Linked DNA regions of Homo sapiens: region 2 is linked to region 1. Evidence: promoter capture Hi-C in 16 types of primary human blood cells and fetal thymus (Javierre and others, 2016). All regions are on one chromosome and are shown on one strand. The core of a region is centred on a gene start or on the middle of the fragment in contact, and the rest is flanking DNA. Distances in the headings are between cores, read along the strand shown.

What was found. Contacts are between HindIII fragments. The CHiCAGO score rates a contact against its expected background, and 5 or more counts as called.
Region 2: a contact is called between a fragment that was not itself captured here and the fragment with the promoter of MAPKAPK2 in region 1, in 8 of 17 cell types (M2 macrophages, activated CD4 T cells, total CD4 T cells and 5 more). The highest score is 6.6, in M2 macrophages.

The regions. Positions count from the first base shown.
Region 1 is chr1:206,680,814-206,687,762 of GRCh38, forward strand. MAPKAPK2 (MAPK activated protein kinase 2) reads left to right here and starts at 4,092. Exons shown (of 10, transcript NM_032960.4): 1 at 4,092-4,695. The coding sequence starts at 4,417. LOC124904495 (a long non-coding RNA gene) reads right to left here and starts at 3,993. Exons shown (of 3, transcript XR_007066833.1): 1 at 2,928-3,993; 2 at 2,538-2,730; 3 at 1,327-2,297. It overlaps LOC124904496 (a long non-coding RNA gene), which reads left to right. Exons shown (of 3, transcript XR_007066834.1): 2 at 362-777; 3 at 2,094-2,175. RefSeq lists silencers at 4,068-4,247, 4,708-4,757, 4,768-4,857, 5,268-5,357 and an enhancer at 6,697-6,949. The HindIII fragment of the contact is 16,303 bases long and covers 1-6,949 here.
Region 2 is chr1:207,012,032-207,019,195 of GRCh38, forward strand. C1orf116 (chromosome 1 open reading frame 116) reads right to left here. Exons shown (of 4, transcript NM_023938.6): 4 at 6,491-7,164. Among named protein-coding and RNA genes, the nearest start is that of C1orf116, 17 kb to the right of the region's middle. The HindIII fragment of the contact is 3,148 bases long and covers 3,021-6,168 here.

The DNA of each region.
Region 1 (6,949 bases), core at 2,842-5,341:
ACCATGAGCATGGACTTTGGGTCAGAAAGATTTGGGTCCTGTCCTTCGCTAGTGGAATGACTCTGAGAAAGTTATTTAATTTCTCTGGGACTCAGTTTTCTTGTTTATACAACAGATAAGTGAGGATAACAGTACAGACCTCATAGGGCTGTGTAAGAGTAGGATAAGGTTTGGCTGTGAATGATAGAAAACCTAGACCATCAGTCACTTCAACAAGAAGGCCATTTATTGTTCTTTCATATAAAAGTCTGGGTAGGTGGCTCATTGCTGATATGATGGATCCAGGTTCACCAGTATACAGACTCTTTCTGTCCTTTTGTTCTGTCTTCCTCAACCTGTAACCTCCAATTCACCATCCAAGATGGCTACAGCTGTGAAATTTTTATTCCAGTCAGCAGGAAAGAAAAAAGAGAAGGAGAAGAAGAAGGACATACTTCTTTCCATAAACCACTTCCACTTACAAGTCATTGGTTATAACTTAATCTTATGAATGTAACCGGCTATAGTGGAGGCTGCTCAAGTGGGAAATGTAATTTTTATTCCAGGCAGTCTTGTGCTTAGCTAAATATGGGGTGCTCTTTACTATCAAAGAGAGGAAAAAAAGGTGTTAGCCCACCCAACTAGCAATCTCAGCCACGGATCATCATGAGATTTAAATGAGACAATGCAGGTAGAGGGTTGAGCACAGTGTTGGGCACTCAGGAAGCACTCAAAAAACATTGTCATCGTCATCATCATCATCATCATCAACATCATCATCACCATCATCATGAGAAGGTGAGGAATACTTTGAAACTGTGACAAGGCATTTTCTTATTTTAACCTGGTCTTGCTGCTAACATCACCCTTGGCCACCTCCCTTTTAAGGTGATTTGAGTTTCATCTTTTATGATACCTTTGAACATGCCTTCATGAAACAAAACTATATAAAAAGGAAAGCAAGGGAAAGGTGAACATAGGACTCAGGATGATGGGGTCTTGGGCCATGAAAATGGAGGGGTTGGGGGAGTGTGTGTGGAGGAATCATCTAGTTAGATGTAAATTATTGTCGAAGTTCTAGTTTTTATTTTGGGTAGTGGATTCACAGGTGCTTACTGCATTATTAAAAATAATTATTAACTAACAATAAAAGTGGAGCTGCATGGATCAATGATCCAATGACGAGAGTGTGTCATGAATCAAGGATTATAATTAATCCATTTCTATGTACCTGAGGTCCTTAAATTGTCTTTGTGTGTACTATATTGCATGGCATATGTGTTTGCATGTTAATAGTAGATAAAAATAGTACTTTCTATTTGCATAGACTTTCAAGTTTTAAAGCGCTTTTACACATCCATAAAAACTGTTTATTAAGTAGTTCATTACAGATGGCTAAGAGCCTGGTGTTACACAAATAGGACTTTGGACTGCTTCCTGTAGGAAAGTTTTTATTTTATCCTTGCACAAGCCCTACAAAGTAGGCAAGGCAGATGTTATTGTCACTATTTTGCAGATGAGAAGGAAGGAACTGAGAGAGCAAGGGGCTCTCATGAGGTTACATAGCGAGTCAGTATCAGAATGGAACTTAAGACTCAGGATCTCTTGGCCAGTGCTTCTGCATTTAGCACATCTTACTCCTCAATTATTCATCCACTAGGCGTTTATTCTGTTACATGGCACATTGTGCTCATGTGTTGTGTTCATATATGTGTGTGTTTTCTGGTGCTGTGTGTGCAGTTCATATAATCTCTATCCACTATGTATGTACCCTCAGAGTCCCTGTGTGCCCCCTAGGCCTATTTGGCTCTTGCAGCTCCGGGAGGACTCTCAGGTGGGAATTCAGTTGTCCTGTTATTCCTAGATCATTGGGCCTCACCATCTCCCTGGAGCTCCAGCTAGGTAGGAAAGCAGCTTTGATATCAGGAATAGATCCGTAGGCCATGAGCACAGAGCAGAGGAGCAAGCCAGCAATGTCTAAATAATGGTGATATTTAATATTTCATGATAATGTATAGTTTATGCTTTAGGATGTGTTCTCATAATTACTATTTCATTTTATTCTCTCTCAGCCCCGAAAGTAGATTTTGTTGTTTTTTTCTTTTCTTTTTCAGATGCTGAGAGATGTTACATGTCTTGCTCAAGGTAACCCAGTTGGAGGACAGTCTTGGCTTCAGCTCATTTGTCTCTAGATCCTGTCATCTTACCACTGTGCCTTGCTGCCTCTGAAAAGGCAGAAGGAAGTTATTCTCTTTCTAGCTTTGTGGAGAAAAGCAGGTGATACCTCAACACCAAGCCATAGGGAGCTTCCAGTGACTCTGCAAAGAAAAAAAAGACCAACTCAGACTCCAGAGCAGCCCCACCAGAGCCTGAGCAGTTGGAGCCTTCCACCTTCCCACCCCTGCGTTCCTCTTGTCCTTGGGCATCTCCTGTGTGTGCTTCGGGGAGGTGATAGCAGTGCTATAGAAGTAGTGGAGTGAAGATGTTTTCCTATCCCCGTGGCCTTAGATAGTGTCTTTGTCTTTGAAGAGTCAGGGGCATCTGGGGAGCTGTCTAACCGTATCTATCCTGTAGACTCGGGAGGAAGCTGCTGGCTGCTGTAGACAGAAGAGAATCCCTGTGCTTCGGGCTCCTAGGAAGGTGTCTGCCATCCTCTCTGTGCCACTGTTATCTGTCTTCTTCCCCATCAGATAACACCATCCACCGCTGCAGGGCTGAGCACGGCACCTTGTACATGGAGCTAAGCAGATGCTGCTTGAGAAGAGCATATGTTTGTGTCGGGGGAAACATGTCTCTCCTTGGTCCACAGAGCCCTACCTGCCCCAGGAAAGGACAGTGTTGGGAGGGTAACTCCCACCCCTCACTCCTCCCCCTCATTCCTGCCTCCACAAGCATCTTCTGGGAAAGGTGAATGAGGGAAGAGACATTTGCACTTGTCCCTTACCTACCTAAGTTCTATCCCCAGTGGCCACTTCTGGGGGTGTTGTCTTCTCTCTGGAGTTTTGGGGGACCTATTAGGGGGCATGTGTGGCCATAGGTCAAGCCTCATTCTCTAACTGGCCTTACCAAGACTTAAGCTGAGGTTTTGTGTTCACCTGTCTGGGTTGCTTGCCATTTCTCAAATGTTCTGCCAGTCAGAGGTGGGAGGAGGTCGGCAGGAATGTACTTGGTCATCTCGAACCCCATCAGAATGTGTGTGGAGGCCTCCTGGCAGCTTCTATGCAGGGTCCAGCTAGATCCCTGGGCTTTTCCTGAGATACACGGGGCTAACCCACTTCTTACGGATTAATTTTTCCACATCGGAAATCAGAAGCCATTCCCCAGGGCCTCCCCTTCAGTTTCATTATCTCCTTTGACTCTGCCCACAACCTTTGAAAAGGTCTCGCTGTTCTTCCCACGGAGAGAGAGGTGCAAGGCTTGCTCAGCCTCACACAGCCAATCCGTGGCAAAGGATGGCGGGAATTCAGGTGGCCCCAATCTCAACCCATCCTCTTCCCACCCTGTATCCTTTTTAGTTTATTTACAGGAAAACATGTTCAAAGGTATAATTACTAAAGTGCTCCTGGTTACACAATAATACGTCTTTACTGAAAAACAATAAATTAATGAGAAAAGAGATGCAAAAAACCTCAGAGGAAAATGTTGAAGTTAGGGAAATATTTAATACGCCCGCCTTTGGCTCACACCTTTTCCTGGGATGAATGACCCCTGTGATTCCAGCTCCCCCCCACCCCCACGAGGTCTCATCTAGCTGGATACCTACAAGCCATCCCTGTCCTTGGAAATACACCCCTCTCCCAATTCGCTGCCGCTAAGAAGCCCAGACAATTGGAGAGGAGTGGATTTTCCATCTGAATTATGCAGCTCCTTTGACACGCCTCCCCTCTCCCTTTGCATAGCCTTGGTTAAGAACTAGCATTTCTTCGTCCCCTCTCCCTGTCCCCTCTCACTGTCCGCGAGGCAGCAGCCCCCAGCCTACTCCGCGATCCTCCCAGCTCCCGGCACCGCGCGTCCTCCCCTTTAAGGCCCGCCCCTCCCCCCACGCCACGCCTCCCCAGGCCCCGCCCCCCGCCCCTCCCCTTTAAGGACCGGCCCCGGACGCAGACGAGGCTGTGACGCGGCCGCCGGCCCGGGGCTGGGTACATTGTCGCGCGGCCGCTTCCCCCCGGCCGGGCCCCCGCCGCCCCGCGGTCCCCAGAGCGCCAGGCCCCCGGGGGGAGGGAGGGAGGGCGCCGGGCCGGTGGGAGCCAGCGGCGCGCGGTGGGACCCACGGAGCCCCGCGACCCGCCGAGCCTGGAGCCGGGCCGGGTCGGGGAAGCCGGCTCCAGCCCGGAGCGAACTTCGCAGCCCGTCGGGGGGCGGCGGGGAGGGGGCCCGGAGCCGGAGGAGGGGGCGGCCGCGGGCACCCCCGCCTGTGCCCCGGCGTCCCCGGGCACCATGCTGTCCAACTCCCAGGGCCAGAGCCCGCCGGTGCCGTTCCCCGCCCCGGCCCCGCCGCCGCAGCCCCCCACCCCTGCCCTGCCGCACCCCCCGGCGCAGCCGCCGCCGCCGCCCCCGCAGCAGTTCCCGCAGTTCCACGTCAAGTCCGGCCTGCAGATCAAGAAGAACGCCATCATCGATGACTACAAGGTCACCAGCCAGGTCCTGGGGCTGGGCATCAACGGCAAAGTTTTGCAGATCTTCAACAAGAGGACCCAGGAGAAATTCGCCCTCAAAGTAGGTCTGGGGCCCGGGGAGGGGAGGCGGGGCCGGTCCCGGGCCCTGGAGCTCCACGGCGTCGGGTGCCCGTCCCGGCCTGGGTCGCGGCGCGGGGCGGAGGGGTGGCCGCGGCGGGGCGGGGCGGGGCGGCCGGGCCGGCGGTGCCGAGTGCGGCGCGGGCGGCGGGTCCCAGCGCCCTCGCCTCCCTGACCGCTTCCGGCCGCTCCCGGGCGGGAGCCCTGGGACCCGCTCCTGGGGACTCAGGGGACCCTGCCATTTTGGGGTTTGAGCGGGATCCAGCCGAGTCAGAACGGTTGGCTTCGGGACTTCTGCTAATTTCACTCCATCTCAAGGAAGTGATTTTGGGGTTGGTGGTTCCCCGTCCTCTCCTCCCTCCTTTTTCTCTCTCTGCGGGCACAAAAGGCCCATTACTCATTGAGCCGGTTGGTCGGTTGGTTTGGAGAAGTCGGATCGCAGAGGTTTATTTAGCCTCGCTCCTTATTTGGGAGCCGGAATGTGTGATTTCACTTCCCCGAGCCTCGCGAGGGCAGCCGGGCCGCCTTGGGGCGCGCCGGGCAGGAGGTGTGCGGCGGGAGGGTCCTGGGTGTCCCCCGGCTGCGGGGGCGGGATTATTTGGATCCCGGAGCTGGCCCCCTCAGCTGGCCCCCTCCCACGCCCGCGCGGGGCGGCTCCGGGGAGAGGCCGGCGGTGTCCGCGGCCCGGCTGATCATTGTGAACAGAGTCTGTAACCCGCGGCCGGGCCCGTGCTGATTCCGCCTCCTAGAGAGGGCCACTTGCTGTCCTGGACTCGCGCCGTGATGGGCAGTCTGAGGAAACATTATCCTTGAGCCGGGGGAGCCCATCCCTTTTCTTTCTTTAAGGGGTGTGGTGGTGGGGAGAATAAGGATTCAAGTGAGAATATCGACTTCAGAAGTTAAACACAATGGACTGGGAGGTCTCATGAGATGGGTGGGTCCGCAGTGAAGTGTGAGCCGGTCTTGCAGGGTCACCAACAAGGTTTTCCTCTCACAGGGGTTTCAGGTCAAACCAATCTCTAAAGGTGACGCCTCAGGTCTGTTTCCCCTGGGGTGTCTCAATGATTGGAGGAGGAGAAAAATACTTCCTGTGTTATATTTTTCTCTTCCCCTTCAGCCCCCACAGCGAGCTGTATTTCAGTTGTCAAGTACAAAACTCAGAAATGTGGTATGGGTGGAACTATTGGAATATACGATCAGATGTTTTAAAAGAAACACCAGTACTTCGGGGTTGTACGGGGCAAGCATGTTCCATTTCTAGATTTTAAGGCCTCTAGAATTGTTTTCCTGCTGCTCTCATACTCAACCCTGTTACAGTGCTTTGCTTTCTACTGTAAGTTATTGCTCTGGGATCTCGGTTGTTGTTTAGTGTTGACTGTTGGAGAGGGGATAAGTATCTTCAACACTTCAACATTTGTGTCTTAGACTTCTCTTTCCCTACTCATAACTGAAGGGAAAGGAGGAGGAGGAGTTGTTTGGATTGAGCATGGCTCTGACCTTGGGGACTGGAGTTGGGTGAATACAGTTTGACCACAGTTAACCTGTATCATTGAGGAAGTGACAGACGGTCTTTACAGGAGTGTTTGCTGTCCCCTCTGAGACACCATCTGCCTTCACCCATTAGTAGTTTGGGGACACTGGCTGTTCATTCTCTTGGATATTTGGAATATTATGTAAAGACTTCAGAACAAAAGCTCCCAACTTCTGCTCTGTATTCTGTTTAATAGACACACGCACAAAATCATCCTATAAAATGCTTTTGAGTGGCAATTCAGATTTCTCTTGTAACTAACGAGAGAGAGGTTTACATATTTTTCTACTTTGAATAGTTTTGGAAGGAAAAATCCAGCAGCGTGTTAAATAACACTCATAGTTTATCCCTCTCAGGTTAGAAGTGGGCGAAGAGTGAAGTCAGTCTGTTTTGACAGGCAGCCTGCTCCCAGATCTTTTAAGTTGACTCAACTGTTAAATTGTGGATTTCCCACACACGTCTTTGTGTTAAAACTTAATAATGGAGGAAGAAAGGAGAGACAAGGCATTTGGAGACTGACAGCAGTGTTAACAGCACTTCCATATCCAAATATTGGCTGAGACATAATTACAGCTGTGGGGGGAATCTGGTTCAAAGAACGCTGTTCCAGAGACACACACCAAAGAGATTTCTAGATCTTGAATTTTGATTAACCTCAGGTGCTGAGTAGTGAAATGGTTTTCAAAACCAGAAGTCTAGTGATTAT
Region 2 (7,164 bases), core at 3,345-5,844, 330 kb after region 1:
GTCATGCTCGAATCTATTCCATCTTAAAGCAAACAATAAAAAAAAACCCTTCTGTACTCTTGATCACATTTTTTTATTCAATTTCCCTAGCTTTCTTCCCTAGCTAAGCTATAAAGGGAGGGAAGTAGATTTAACTACACTCACTGTCTTCACTTCCGTTGACTCTACAACTGGCTAAAGTTGGTTTTCACACTCGGTTCTTCTCTGAAATTGTTTTTGCTGAAATTATTAGCGACCTCTTAATTTCAAAATCCAATAGAAATGTTTTAGTGCCATCATATTTGATGTGTCTGGAGTACTTGGTATTGTTGACCAGGTTCTTTTCTAGAAACTCTTTTTTCCCCTTAGCTTTCAAAATCTCTCTCTGAATAGTGGTGAGTACTATGCAGAGAATTCAAGAGTGGTACTTCATAGTACCACATAGGAAAGATCAAGTGTCATCTTTAGCTTGATCATTCAGCAAAGGCCTCTCAGAAAATCTGAAATTTAATCTAAAACGTAAAGGATGAGAAGGAACTAGCTACGTAAAGACGAGGAGAAAAGAACTCCAGGAGAAGGAACAGCCAAGGTAGAGTCCCAGAGCTGGGACAAGCTTGATGCATTTAAAGGAGAACATGAAGACAGATCTGAGAAGGGGGCACAGGAGAGAGCCCTGAGGCCCAAGAGGATGAGAAGGCAAAAGATCCTGAGGAGGAGTACACAGTACCCAGGAGTCAGTGTTTCAAAATGAAGGGAGTCGTCAATTGTGTCAAATGTGCAGAGAAATAAAGTAAATGCGAGTAAAGCAGACTACTGGATCTGCCAACATGGATGTCATTGGTAACTCTGACAACATGGTCTTGGGGGCATGGAGGGGAAAGATGCTTGGTTGAAGCGGGAGGAGGAGTGAGGTTCAGGTGAGAAAGGAGAGGTTGTGTTTATTTCAAGGGACATTTCCAGAGGGGAGCAGAGAGATGGCTAGGGTGCTAGAGCAGTGCTGTCCAACACCAGAGCCACTTGCCTAATTAAAAAATGTAAGTTTATGTTAATTAAAATTAAATAAAATTAGACATTTAGTTCTTTGTCACACTAGCCAAATATCAAGTGCTTGAGGGCCACATGTGAGGAGCAGCTACTCAATTGGGCAGAGCAGATAGAGCATAGTTTTATCATTGCTGAAATTTCTGATGGACAACTCTGCTCTAGAAGATGTGGGGTTAAGGAAGGTTTTAATTTTGTTGTTGTTGTTGTTAATTTTTTAATTTGAGAGATACTAGACAGAACAGTGATCAAGTAGAAATTGGGGGTGCAGTTTTCTCATTGGACTTCTCTTTATTTACCTCCCTTTAGATGTCAGTGTGCCCCAGAGATCCATCCATGAGCTCTGTTCTTCTTATTCTACCCATCCTCCCTAGACAGCCTTATCCATGCTCATGATCGACTGTCACCTACATTTAGTGGCTCTGTTATCGCTTCTCCCCCATGAACTGCAGACCCGCAGTCTACCTGCCAGGGGCCATGTCAACTTAGAAGTCCCACAGCAACCTCAAACTCCGTATGCCCCAAACCAAACCTCCCTTCTTCCTGGTCCTACCCCTATAGCACATTCATGAATTCTGTCTACTTGTTCAGACCAGCAATGTGGGCATCATTTTGAGCTCCTCTTTCTCCTTTAGTCTTTACATCCAGTCAGTCACTAAGCTGCTGGTTGGTTTGTGGGCACATTTAGAATTGTGCACCACCTCCATCTTCACTGATTTATTTAAATTCTCACTTGGACTGTTGGGAGCATTGTGGATTAGCTAGCAGAAGACTCACATCCACCCCCTTCTCCCAGGCTGGCCTCTATTAGAGAGGACAAGACAGGCTTTCTTACAGCCAGAGATGGCTTGTGACGTAATTCTGGTCAATGAGACAGAAAAGAAAGTCTGTTCAGAAGTTTCTGGGAAAGACTTTGCTTTCTTATTTAAAAAGACAGATATGGATGCTCCCAGTATTTTTTCCCTTCTTAATCCTTTGAATGCCAGCAATATGACTGGAGCCACCATCTCGCAATTGCAGAAGGAAGGCAAAGAGAATTCCTGTGCCTCTGCCCTGAACAATGCCCATAGCCACCTACCCTCATATTTCCCAGTATGGGAGAAAAAGATAAATCCCCTTTTATTTAAGCCACAGAGGGTTCTGTTACTTGCAGCCAAAAGCATCTTTGACTGATAAAGGCTTCTAGCTCGTTTCTTTGTTGTAGTATCATTGCAGTATGTTCCATTATCCACAGCCTTGGCCAGAGCCTTTACAAAATGCAATTTTGACCTTGCTACTTCCCTGCTTTAAATCTCCCATTGACTCTCCACTGCTCACAGGATAGAGATCAGACTGTTTTGCATGGCACATAGGCCCTCCACAGTCTCCTGTTGCCTGCTCCTCTGGCCTCATCCCTGGGCACTGTACATCACAGACAGTTCTCCAGATACACCACACTTCTTTGTGCTTTCTTGGCACATGCTGTTTCCTCTGTCTGGAACACCTCTTCTTTCCAGGTCTTTCCCCTCCTCTCTTAGATCCCTACCCTCTATGGTTCTATATCTTTATATCTTGAATATAATCATACCTTATTGTCTCTCTTGCTAGACTATGAGCTCCTTCATTTTCTGGGTATGTCTTATTTATCTTTGTTTTCCTAATATTGGATAGAGGGTTTGAACTCAGGAAACTGAGAAACGAATGAGTGTGCTGAACCAGGGGCCGTGATTCTGTCTCTAGTTTTACTTATTGTAACCCCATGAGCTCTCTGAAACTCATGTTCCTCATGTGTAAAACATGGGTAATTCTATCTTTGTTGTTTGCGGTGTCAGTGAAATTGTTTTTATATGGCAGATTTGTAATAGCAAAACAGCACTGGCCTTGCTGAGAGGTCAACCCAAGTTCAAATCCATGACTCCAATAATTACTAACTTATGAACTTGGGCAAGTTGAGTAAACTGTCTGTGTCTTGGTTCCCTAATTGACAGAGAGTTAGATAGAAATGTGTGGGGCTGTTATGAAGCTTACTTGAGATACTGAACATGAGAATTCTTGGTTCTAAGAGGGACTCAATAAATGTTTAGTTGAAGTGGACATGAAAAGAGGGGATCTTCAGTCTTGATAAGATCCTACTTGGGATGCCCAGTTCCTGGACAAGAGCTGTGGTCCCCATGCTGCTGGGCAGCCAAAGCCCAAACCTGTGCCTGCCTCCTTTCACTGTGCAGACAGTAGGCACCATGCCAGCAGCTCCATGCAGAGCTGCACTGGGTCTCCGTCCCTAGGTTGGAGGAATAAGAAGAGTCACGACCATCTGCACAGCACTGAAAAGATTTCCTGATGCGTCCATAAATATATATCTCATGTACGTCTTGAGCATTCAGCAAAGGCTTCTCAGAAAATCTGAAATTTAATCTGAGACTTAAAGGATGAGAAGGAACTAGCTATGTAAAGATGAGGAGCGGAGAACTCCAGCAGAAGGAACAGCCAAGGTAGAGTCTCAGAGCTGGGACCAGCTTGATGCTTTTAATAAGAGAACATGAAGACAGATCCTTCAGGAGCCCCTGCCTAAAGGACGGGGGCAGGAGAGTCACTCAAAGAGGAGATGACAAATATTTCCTCAGATCCAAGCAACTGAACAGAGCCAGGAACTAATCCAAAGGAGGCCTTCACAGAGTCCTGCCTACCCACTAAAGCAGAGTGTGGCAGGGTTGGTGTGAGCTGGAGGAGGTGTTGATGTTGCAAGTCAACTTGTGCTGTAGCCTCAGTCCTACTTTCAGGCATGAAGGCCCAGGAGGTAGAGAGCGCTGTACTCTCAACATGTCCAAACACAGACCCATGCAGGGGACCCCCAGATCTGAGCCTCTCGCCATGGTCTATGTCTCAGTGAGTGGTATTAGTATCCATCCAATCACGAAGGAATGAAACCAAAACATGACTCATGACCTCACCCTCTTCCTCACCCTCAGTAATAGGTCCACCAAATCATGTCAGTGATGAACATCTTCAAACCTTCTTTCTTTTCTTCTTTCTGCCACCACCACAGCTGCACAGTGCCACACTGCCTCCCTCCCAGACTACAGCAGTAGCTTTCTAACTGTTCCCTTCACACCCATCCCAGCCTGTCTCAGTCCCCTCCCAACCCAGCCACCAGAATGATCTTTCCATCTGTAGAGATGTACAGAGTTTGGCGCAGCAACTCTCTTCACGTAAGAGGAATTTTTTGAAAAGTCTCTGGGGGTTGACGCTTAGATCCTAAGAGCCCTCAAGTGTCGGGTGGAGGTGAGAAGGATTTGCTGGTTGTGCTATAAGTTGGAAAAGAAAAAGAAAGGGTGGAAGGGGAGGTGATGTGAGGCCATGTGGTTGTGATAGGTCCCCCAGCATCCCCCACACTGACCTTCAGTAAAAAACTCAGAAAATAACAAAATGCTTAACGAAACCTGATTTCCCATGGGAATCAGTGAAAGGCCTGGGCTTTGGGTCTAGACCAATAGTGAGCGGAGACAGAGACAGTGGCTTAGGGATGGCAGAGTGTGGATTGGGAAGGAGGCAGGTGTGGGGAGGCTCCGAAGCAGCACACACAGATGCAGATAGGACAGAACTGTAGGAGGCTCTTAAAACTGGAGGAGGGCTTTGACTGTTTCAGTTCTGAGGAATCTAGGTGCAGGCCAAGATTAACCAGTCCTGATGGGGGTCCCAGTTGGCATCTGAATTACACGTCTATATGATAATAATATGAATAGACACCATTTATTCAGCAGTGTGCTATGGTTTTTTTTATATGTAGTATCTCATTTGATTCTATTTTCATAAAAACTGCAAGGGGTAAGTATTATTATTGCCTTACTTTACGAGGTTCCATCCTGTTATAATCTAAGTTCGTTTTCTCTCCATTTTTAAGATAAACAATAACTGTAGGGCGGCATAAAGTTCCCTGAACCACACAACAAAGAAAGTTAAAAGATGCAAAAGGTAATCACCGAAAAGGAAACTGAAGTGCAGAGACCCTGGCAGCCTGGCTCCTGAGCCTATGCTCTTGGCCACTGTATGTTCTCAATCTCTCTTCCCTCCCCTCCTCTTCCCTCCTTTCTTATCTTCTTCCATCTATCCACTCATCCATCCATCCATCCATCAAGCCTCCATCCATCTATCCAACTATATTTCTGACCATATCTCTCTCTATATATACATAGTTGGAGGTAGATATAGATATAGATATAGATATAGATATAGATATAGATATAGCTATCTAAGTTGACATGCCAGAGGCCATGTCAGCTTAGAAGTCCCACAGCAACCTCAAACTCAGTATGCCCCAAACCGAACCTCCCGTCTTCCTGGTCCTACATGTATATATATATACATATATATATATGTGTGTGTGTTTATTTCTGACCATAGATATAGATAGGTAGATAGAAAGAAAGGAAGAAACATATGTATCTCCAACTATAGAGATAATTCCTCTTTAGGTGGGAGGTTGAATTACAGAACCTAAAAGTTTCCTTTCCGTTCTCAAGTTCTCTGAGGTTTAGTTTATTTTAGACTATATTTTGATTATTTTTGGCAGGTGTTTATCTTCCTAACTTGTTTGGATTTACCGAAACATACATTTCAGGGCTAGCATGGATCTAGGAGAAAGACCAAGTCCCTCATGTTGAGAGTGAGAAGAAGTGACCCACTAAATCTCACCTGGTCCAGGCCTCTGCCTGTTTCACATTATTTTGAATTCTGGATACGTGGCAAGTGGTGATAAGGACAACAATCCAACTAGGTAATGAGTAAGAGAGAGTGACAGCCTGGAATTAGAGTGTAATCTGTTTTTACCACATGTGTATGCTAACAGTCAGTGATGATTGTGACAGTGGTCATGACTCCAGCAATTCACAGGTCCCTACACCTGAAGAGATTTAGAGACCTCATCCAATGTACTTCTTGCCTCCTGATAACTAATGCCTGATTCATTCCAGAGATGAACAAATTTAAAAGAACGTGCTATTTAAAATAAAAAAAAGGAATTTTAAAACCTTTTCTAGCTTTTATTTCTTTCTGAGGAGTTCCCTCCTGTTATATGCTTATTTTTTTTACCTTCATTTTAAAAATAAATAACTGTAGAACAGCATATAGTTCTCTGAACCACACAGCAAAAGAAAGTAAAAGGAAGCAAAAAGAAGCTTGCTCTATGGTCATGGGCAGTAAGAGACTGATGATACAGGAGAAGTTGGATTTGAGGATATGAAAGCTGGAAACAGCTGGTTCAGGCTGCACCGGAACACACACATTACACCCATGCCAATTGCTGTCTTTTCAAACTCCAGGAAGCCTGGCATGGGTGAAGCTGAGTCACGTGGAGGCTGTGCCGAAGCCTGGTTGTGCCGTAAGTTTTGTGTGCAGCAGGCTCTATCTTTCTCTCAGAAGTGAGTTGGGTGAGCCCTTGGTATCCAACCCTCCCTACAGTCACCTCCTTTGAGAAGAAAAAAATAAGACCCAGAAGGTAGTATTATCATTTATTGAGTAGCTACACTGTGGCCAGAACTAAGCTTTACATGTTTTATATCACTTATTTATCTCAACAATCTTGAAAGGGTGGTATTATTTTCCCCGTCTTATAGGTGAAGACTCTGAGGTTCAGAAAGTTAAAGTGATATCGCCAGGGTTCCTGACTGGTAAGTGATGGAGGCTGAATTTGAGCCAGATCTATATGCTCCATCATCACTCTCCTGGGGAAAAGAGCCTAGATGTGTTCTATCTGCATTCCTGCTTAGATTCTGCATGACTTCTCCTGTCCATCCCCTTGGCCCCCTCTCCTCTAGTCCATGAGATTACAGCTTTGCACACTGACAGGAGGGTCCTTCCTTCTTAGCCTACACATACAACCAGGTGTCAAAGGATGGAAGGGTTCATCTCACACACTCACAGACCATGTAGACTATTCAATCTACACCTCCAGCTCGAACTCAGAACATTGACAGGAACCTGCTCTTCAATCTTTCACCTCCCCTTTCTCCATGAAACGAACGTCAACATTCACACAGCAGCCCATCCCCAGCCTACAGGGCGGCCCCTGCCAGATCATGCTTCCCACTGTGGAAGAAGGCATGTACGAGTGAGTGGGCTCATCGGTTGACCTCTGTGTGAGATGGCACGTGGTCCTACCCTGCAGAGTCA